Regions from separate parts of the Homo sapiens genome. Here region 2 is linked to region 1. Evidence: promoter capture Hi-C in human tissues and cell types (Jung and others, 2019). All regions are on one chromosome and are shown on one strand. The core of a region is centred on a gene start or on the middle of the fragment in contact, and the rest is flanking DNA. Distances in the headings are between cores, read along the strand shown.

Region 1 (3,637 bases), core at 290-2,789:
GAGCTTGCTGTGCTAACTGCTCGGCCCTGGCCATTTCCAAGACTTCCCGGAGGAGGTGGAAGGTGAGATCCAGGGAGATGGGAGGCTCCTCGGACCGCCTTTCTCTCTCCGGTGCCTCCTGGTGGCCGCCGAGGGCATTCCTAGCGCCGCGCTCCGCGAGAGCCGCGGGGCTGTCGAGCGAGCGCCGAGGCAGCAGCAGCTGCTGCAGCAACACGCGGAAAAAGTTGGCGGTCGCCTGTTCCGGCGAAGGGCGGCTGCCGCTGCCTCCGGCGAGGAGCGAGGAGGCGGGCGAAAGGGGAGCGGCCGGGCTCTTGTTGAGGTTCCCCAGGCGGAGGAAGTACTCCTCTCCCATGCGGAGCAGGACCGGCCGAGCCTGCGGCTGCTGGGGCTGCTCGGACTGCGGCGGCGGCTGGAAGAAATCCAAGGGCTGAGGGTGCTGCGGCGCCTGCCGAGCTCCCGGGACCGGCCCGCGGCTCAGGAGCGCCCTGCATGGCGGGCAGGGCAGGAGAGCCACCAGCAGGACTCCCGCGGACACAAGCAGCGGCAGCCGCATGTTAGGGGCACTCGCTGCGGCACAGAGGTGGGCGGAGGGCGGAATGAGAGAGGGGAAGAGAGAAAGAAAGAGTTGGTTAGAGTTCGCTCAGCTGGGAGGTGCACACGGGGTCTTCCTACGGGACTGCCTTAGACGTGCTGGGCTTTGGCCTCAGTGATTCGGATGGGCGCTGTCCGCGGTGCTGAAGCGCCTGGGGAGCGGGGAAAGGGGGCGCCTGCAGGGCTCCGCACCTAAGCTCATGCGCTCACCGGCCAGGAGTGACCCTTCTTTCTAGACTCTGAAAGGACGGTCCCTGCGTCCTCTTCCTAACGATCCTCAAAACTAATTTTCCCGATCCTAGAGAAGAGCCACAGATTTAAGATCCCACCCGCGCTGACTACCTCCCTTCCGGATATTTCAGCATTTTCTTCCAAATTGAGAACTACTGCCTCATGGTCCTCCCTCTCCACTTCTGCCCTTGCTGCCTTATCTCGGGGGTTAGGATAGAAGGGGGTGGGGGAGCTCCTTTACACAGCCAGCAAGGAGCAACTGGCAGCACGGGTAACGAAGAGCAGCCGTCTAAGTTTGCTTTTGCCACATCCCAGCTACTATTGTAATCTTAAGGAATAGTCCGCGAACACGCGCGCACACACACACGCACGCACGCGCGCATACACACACACACATACGCATACACACATGCATACACACACACACACGCACGCACACACATGCATACACACGTACACAGGCAGGGGCAGCCGGCTCCGCGGCGCACATCGCGGCAGCTCAGGCAACGCAAAGTTGGTGGCGTGTTCCGTCCAGGCGCTCCCTACCTTCCCAGGCGCTTCGCAGGTGAGCCGGGTGCTGCCGCCTCTCTGCAGAGAGACGTCTCCGGGGGCTTTCTCTGGAGGTTGTCTTCCTTTCTCTTTACTGTTCCCACTCTCTTTTTCTTTCTCTCCTCTCTTTCCCCTCAGTCTCTCAATGGACTTGGTCTCTGAGTTTCTCCACTCCAGAGCCTGGAGTGGGATTTTATAGTGTCGACCCTCTTCAAAAACCACGCAGCATTTGCCTAATAAGCTGACGCTCTCTTGACAGCTCGATTGCGTGCTGCCTCTGCTCCTGCATAAATCATAGGGCCCTGCCAAGGAACGAGGGGCAGAATTTTGCTATCTCAACACTGAATCTCACATCCAATTATATCAACAGATATTTATCGCCTCTTGGTGACGTCAACGAGCCCTAAAATGGAAGGGCTTCTTATGACTTGTCCATTGACAAAAATTCTTGAATGAGATTTCCCAAGTGTGAAAACATATTGACCTCTTACTATGAAAGGCCATATTAGGGGTGTGCAAAGAGACAGCGAATGGGAGGAGGAAGGGGAAGTGGGAAGGAAGTGAGGTGTCCCAGTGCAGCCCTGCCAGGAAAGCAGCAGCCAGTTGGAGGGGGTGGACCTGGATGCCCCTTCTCCTAACCTCCCTGACCAGGTGTCTCTGACAACACCTCAGTATCTGGAAATATCCCTTTGCTAGAGACAGAGTCCCACCATCTTTCTGCCTGGAAAAGAATGAAGCATCAGGAGAGGGGTGTGCAGGAACATCCAGCTTTTAAACGTCTATCTGCTTTTTCCTCCCAAGAGCAAGCACATAAAGGAGTTATGAGCCTGCAGAAGCAAGGCCAATAAATCTCTCAAAATGCAGTTCAAGTTTTTTAGATGATGACAAGAGCTACTCCCATAGTGAAGGGGCACAAACCGGGGTTAGTAAGGGGTGCGGCAAAGATTTTAGGTTATCTCAGAAACTCTCTGCTCCTTTTTTTGTCTCTCTTCTCACAATCTAAAATTAATTGTGGACTCCCTTTTCTATTCCCAAATTAAAGAGAGAGGCGGCCAGTGAGAGATGCATGAGTTAAACAAGCTTTACTTATTCTACTGAATGCAAACTCAATGAGAGGCATCCATTCTAACTTCCTAATCTATGTTGAAAAAGGCTTAAACTGCTTGACTACAGGGCTAAATTCATTAGTTACATGTTTTCATTGGTCAATATTGAGTCTGTAAAAAAAAACTCGTTCATTTCACCTCCAAATACTATCAACATCCATAATAGTATCCACATCTGGGCCACCCAGGGTGGTTCTTTTTAATTATTTCTTTTTCCAAATCCAAATGTGCTTCATGTCAGCCTGTTAAATAAATAAATGCTCTCTGACATGTCGCAGAATGGAATGGAATGCTAAGCCTGTAAAACTATATTCAATTTTTGATTAATTGACACTATCATATAGGTGGGAGGCAGTTACCTCTAATTCTGCAATTCAAAATGCAATTCCAAGTTCTTGTGCCTGTGATTCAATTCAGCTTCCAGATAACCATCAGAGTTGTTTATCGGAAATTTCCTGCTCCTCATTTCTGATTACTTCTGCTGCTTCCTTTGTAGCTAATGTGACAAATGATGCAATGCATATTTCAACTTCCATTTTGGGTCTATACCAATCCACAACTGCTCTTAGGAACAAAGGGAAGGCAGGGAGAGAAATGTTGACAGTTTGCAGAGAAGCCAGCCCATAGTTGGATCACTGCACCATGTTATGTACTTTTGACATAAGAGAACAGAGAGAATGTGCCTACTTGGAAAGATGTGAGTTGTTAATAGAAGATCATGATTATGGAAAATGGTTGAGTTTCTGGGAGAAAGCTGTGTTTTATATTGGTAGGAAAGCACACAGAACCTTAGATTTTGTTATTGTGGGCTTTTTTTTTTTTTATTAAGCTGGAATGGGTTCAACATTTTTGCTTACTTTCCTTTATGAACTGTTTTCTGACCCTGTTAGCAGATTTCAGCTTGGATGTCAATCTGGAGGTGAAACGTTGACTTGGAATAGGAAGTTTCAGTGCAGTAAATGGACACAGAAGATAAACTAGGAAAGGGATGTGGTTATGAGTTTAGCTGGGGAGGTCTGGGAGGTTCTTCCAGAGAAGACACAACAAGTTTTGGGCTCTGACTAAACCCATGCCCATACAAATCTCTCTCCCATTGGGCTATCTGGGGGATATTGTTTTAGTATAGCTCCCTCATCACTGTTGAGTCCTTGCTGTGAGGT
Region 2 (3,637 bases), core at 713-3,212, 200 kb after region 1:
TTAAAGGTAGCTGACATTTATAGAGTGCTTACTATGTTTCAGGCACTGTTCTATGCATCCCATATTCATTCATTCAACAAATATTTAGAACCTGCTATGTGCCAGGCATGGTGCTAGGTGATAAAGAGCGGTGAGAGAAACAAAATTCCATCGGAAAAGGGAAATCAATTACAAAGAGAAACAAGGAAACTGTAAAATGAGCAAGATTCTGAAAGGGAACAAAAGGAAAAATAGAGCAGGCAAGGGGGACATGACACTCTCATGAACCCTTATAGGGGCTGTATGCAGTAGAGACTACTATTACCTTCATTTCAGCAATTTAGAAAAAAACAATTGAAGGAAAGAGAGATTAAGTAACTTGTCCAAGTTTTATGGAACTAAAGTAGATGAGTAATGGATGCACCAAGGGGACCTCTGGAGGCTTTAGAGCCCCCATTCAATGTCCATCCCATTCAATGTCCATCACCACCTCACCCCCAGACTTTGAAATGAGTAATTGATGTTTTTTCAGTCTTGTGTAAACAGCCCTGGGGCACAGCCTCAAAGCTCCAACACCTACCATGCCAACACAACATCACCATACAATCATTCCAGCCACCGCTTTGTGGAAATGAGCAGCCCAGAAACCGCTCTGTGGAAGTGATCACCCAGACACTGCCCTGTGGAAGTGAGCGCCCCAAACACTGCTCTGTGGAAGTGATCAACCAGACACTGCTCTGTGGAAGTGAGAGTCCCACATACCACTCTGTGGAAGTCAGCACCCCAGACACCGCTTTGTGGAAATGATCACCCCAGACGCTGCTCTGTGGAAATGAGCACACCAGACACTGCTCTGTGGAATGAGAGCCCCAGACACTGCTCTGTGGAAGTGATCACCCAGACACTGCTCTGTGGAAGTGAGCGCCCCAGACATTGCTCTGTGGAAGTGAGCACCCCAGACACCGCTCTGTGGAAGTCAGCGCCCCAGACACTGCTCTGTGGAAGTGATCAACCAGACACTGCCCTGTGGAAGTGAGCACCCAGATACTGCTCTGTGGAAGTGATCACCCAGACACCGCTCTGTGGAAGTGAGCGCCCCAGACACCGCTCTGTGGAAGTGATCACCCAGACACTGCTCTGTGGAAGTGATCACCCAGACACTGCTCTGTGGAAGTGATCACCCAGACACTGCCCTGTGGAAGTGAGCGCCCCAAACACTGCTCTGTGGAAGTGATCAACCAGACACTGCTCTGTGGAAGTGAGAGTCCCACATACCGCTCTGTGGAAGTCAGCACCCCAGACACCGCTTTGTGGAAATGATCACCCCAGACGCTGCTCTGTGGAAATGAGCACACCAGACACTGCTCTGTGGAAGTGAGAGCCCCAGACACTGCTCTGTGGAAGTGATCAACCAGACACTGCTCGGTGGAAGTGAGCGCTCCAGATACTGCTCTGTGGAAGTGAGCGCCCCAGACACTGCTCTGTGGAAGTGATCAACCAGACACTGCTCTGTGGAAGTGAGCGCCCCAGACACTGCTCTGTGGAAGTGATCACCCAGACACGGCTCTGTGGAAGTGAGCGCCCCAGACATTGCTCTGTGGAAGTGATCACTCAGACACCACTCTGCGGAATTGAGTGCCCCAGACACTGCTCTGTGGAAGTGATCACCCAGACACGGCTCTGTGGAAGTGAGCGCCCCAGACATTGCTCTGTGGAAGTGATCACTCAGACACCACTCTGCGGAATTGAGTGCCCCAGACACCGCTCTGTGGAAGTGAGTGCCCCAGACACTGCTCTGTGGAAGTGATCACCCAGACACTGCTCTGTGGAAGTGAGCACCCCAGACATTGCTCTGTGGAAGTGAGCGCCCCAGTCACTGCTCTGTGGAAGTGATCAACCAGACACTGCCCTGTGGAAGTGAGCACCCAGATACTGCTCTGTGGAAGTGATCACCCAGACACCACTCTGTGGAAGTGAGTGCCCCAGACACTGCTCTGTGGAAGTGATCAATCAGACACTGCCCTGTGGAAGTGAGCGCTCCAGACACTGCTCTGTGGAAGTGATCACCCAGACACTGCTCTGTGGAAGTGAGCGCCCCAGACACCACTCTGTGGAAGTGATCAACCAGACACTGCCCTGTGGAAGTGAGCGCCCAGATACTGCTCTGTGGAAGTAAGCGCCCAGATACTGCTCTGTGGAAGTCATCACCCAGACACCGCTCTGTGGAAGTGAGTGCCCCAGACACTGCTCTGTGGAAGTGATCAACCAGACACTGCCCTGTGGAAGTGAGCGCTCCAGACACTGCTCTGTGGAAATGAGCACCCCAGACACTGCTCTGTGGAAGTGAACACCCAGACACCACTCTGTGGAAGTGAGCACCCCAGACACCGCTCTGTGGAAGTGAATAACCAGACACTGCCCTGTGGAAGTGAGCACCAAGACACTGCTCTGTGGAAGTGAGCGCCCCAGACACTGCTCTGTGGAAGTAATCACCCAGACGCCACTCTGTGGAAGTGATCAGCCAGATGCCACTTGTGAAAGTGAGCGCCCCGATGCCACTCTGTGGAAACTCAGCAGCTACCACAGTAGATGAAGAATAAAACTGGCACATGATTTGCCAGTGACAAACAAAGAATTATCACTCATCCCAAAGACGACCCTGGCAGACATATATGATTAACTCAAAGGGGACACCAAAGGCTTTACAGACAGCAAACAGAGAGAAGTGAAGCTGCTTGCCCAAGGTCATACAGGTAACAACAGCTGGGGCCAGATTCCAGCCCACATCTCTCTGGTTCCTAAAGCTGAGGGAGATGACATGCACCAAGGCTCCAGACTGTGCCAGGACACCCTCTCAGAGCCGCAGCCTGCGAAGAGGTTGGCTGAAGGGAGAGGGGGTTTGAAGTCTGAAGTACTTTTCCACTCCCTAAACAATTTATTGGTCTTCTCACCCCCATCCTGTCATTAACAGAGCTTCAAGAGCTGTTCAGTCTCCAAGCCATTTTGCTTTAGGAAGCTTTGATTTGAAAAATGAGATAAGTAGTTTCAGGGCTGTCATCAATAGGAAATTAGGGGATAAAAAGAAATCTATTTAAATGGCTTTTAAATATTCACAAGGCGAGCCATCGGGTCTCTGCCCTGTTCCTCTGCTCTGCTCCCCCTGCCCAGATAACCTGTCACATCAGTATAATGAATACAAGCTGTGCGGGTAGCAGATGTCGCAGTGGCAGGAGCACCGCCAGCAATGGCCTGAGCTCCTGCCCCCGCAGGAACTTGTTTCTTCAGGGAAGTGATTCCATAAAGGGTCTTTGACAAGGCTTCTCTCAAACAGCCACAAGACAAGATGCACTGGAAAATAACAGACACAAAGAAATGACAATCTGATTTAAAAGAAGCTTGTAAAGGAGTATAAATAGGTAAAACCTCTTTGGATGAAATTTGTGAAATGCACCAGAATTTAAATATGGATTCCCTCTGACCTCGTAATTCCACTTCTAGGACAATTACTAGAACATGTGTATGTATGCATATGCAAGGAGATGGCAGACACACTTTGACATTTGTAATCTGAAAAACCGCAAAGTAAATGTGCATCAATACAAGCATGTTTAAATGAATTATGTATATTATACAACAGTATATATTGTTTAGTGAGTAA

Evidence for each region. Contacts are between HindIII fragments. The study calls those that stand out against the background at their distance.
Region 2: a contact is called between a fragment that was not itself captured here and the fragment with the promoter of CRH in region 1, in 1 of the 25 tissues and cell types used here (hippocampus).

Annotation. Positions count from the first base shown.
Region 1 is chr8:66,176,925-66,180,561 of GRCh38, forward strand. CRH (corticotropin releasing hormone) reads right to left here and starts at 1,540. Exons shown (of 2, transcript NM_000756.4): 1 at 1,369-1,540; 2 at 1-567. The coding sequence starts at 553. LOC112268029 (a long non-coding RNA gene) reads right to left here. Exons shown (of 4, transcript XR_002956713.2): 4 at 2,962-3,036. RefSeq lists an enhancer at 426-495. The HindIII fragment of the contact is 9,798 bases long and covers 1-3,637 here.
Region 2 is chr8:66,375,442-66,379,078 of GRCh38, forward strand. The region is part of intron 1 of LOC102724687 (a long non-coding RNA gene); the gene reads right to left. Among named protein-coding and RNA genes, the nearest start is that of RRS1-DT, 52 kb to the right of the region's middle. The HindIII fragment of the contact is 3,476 bases long and covers 225-3,637 here.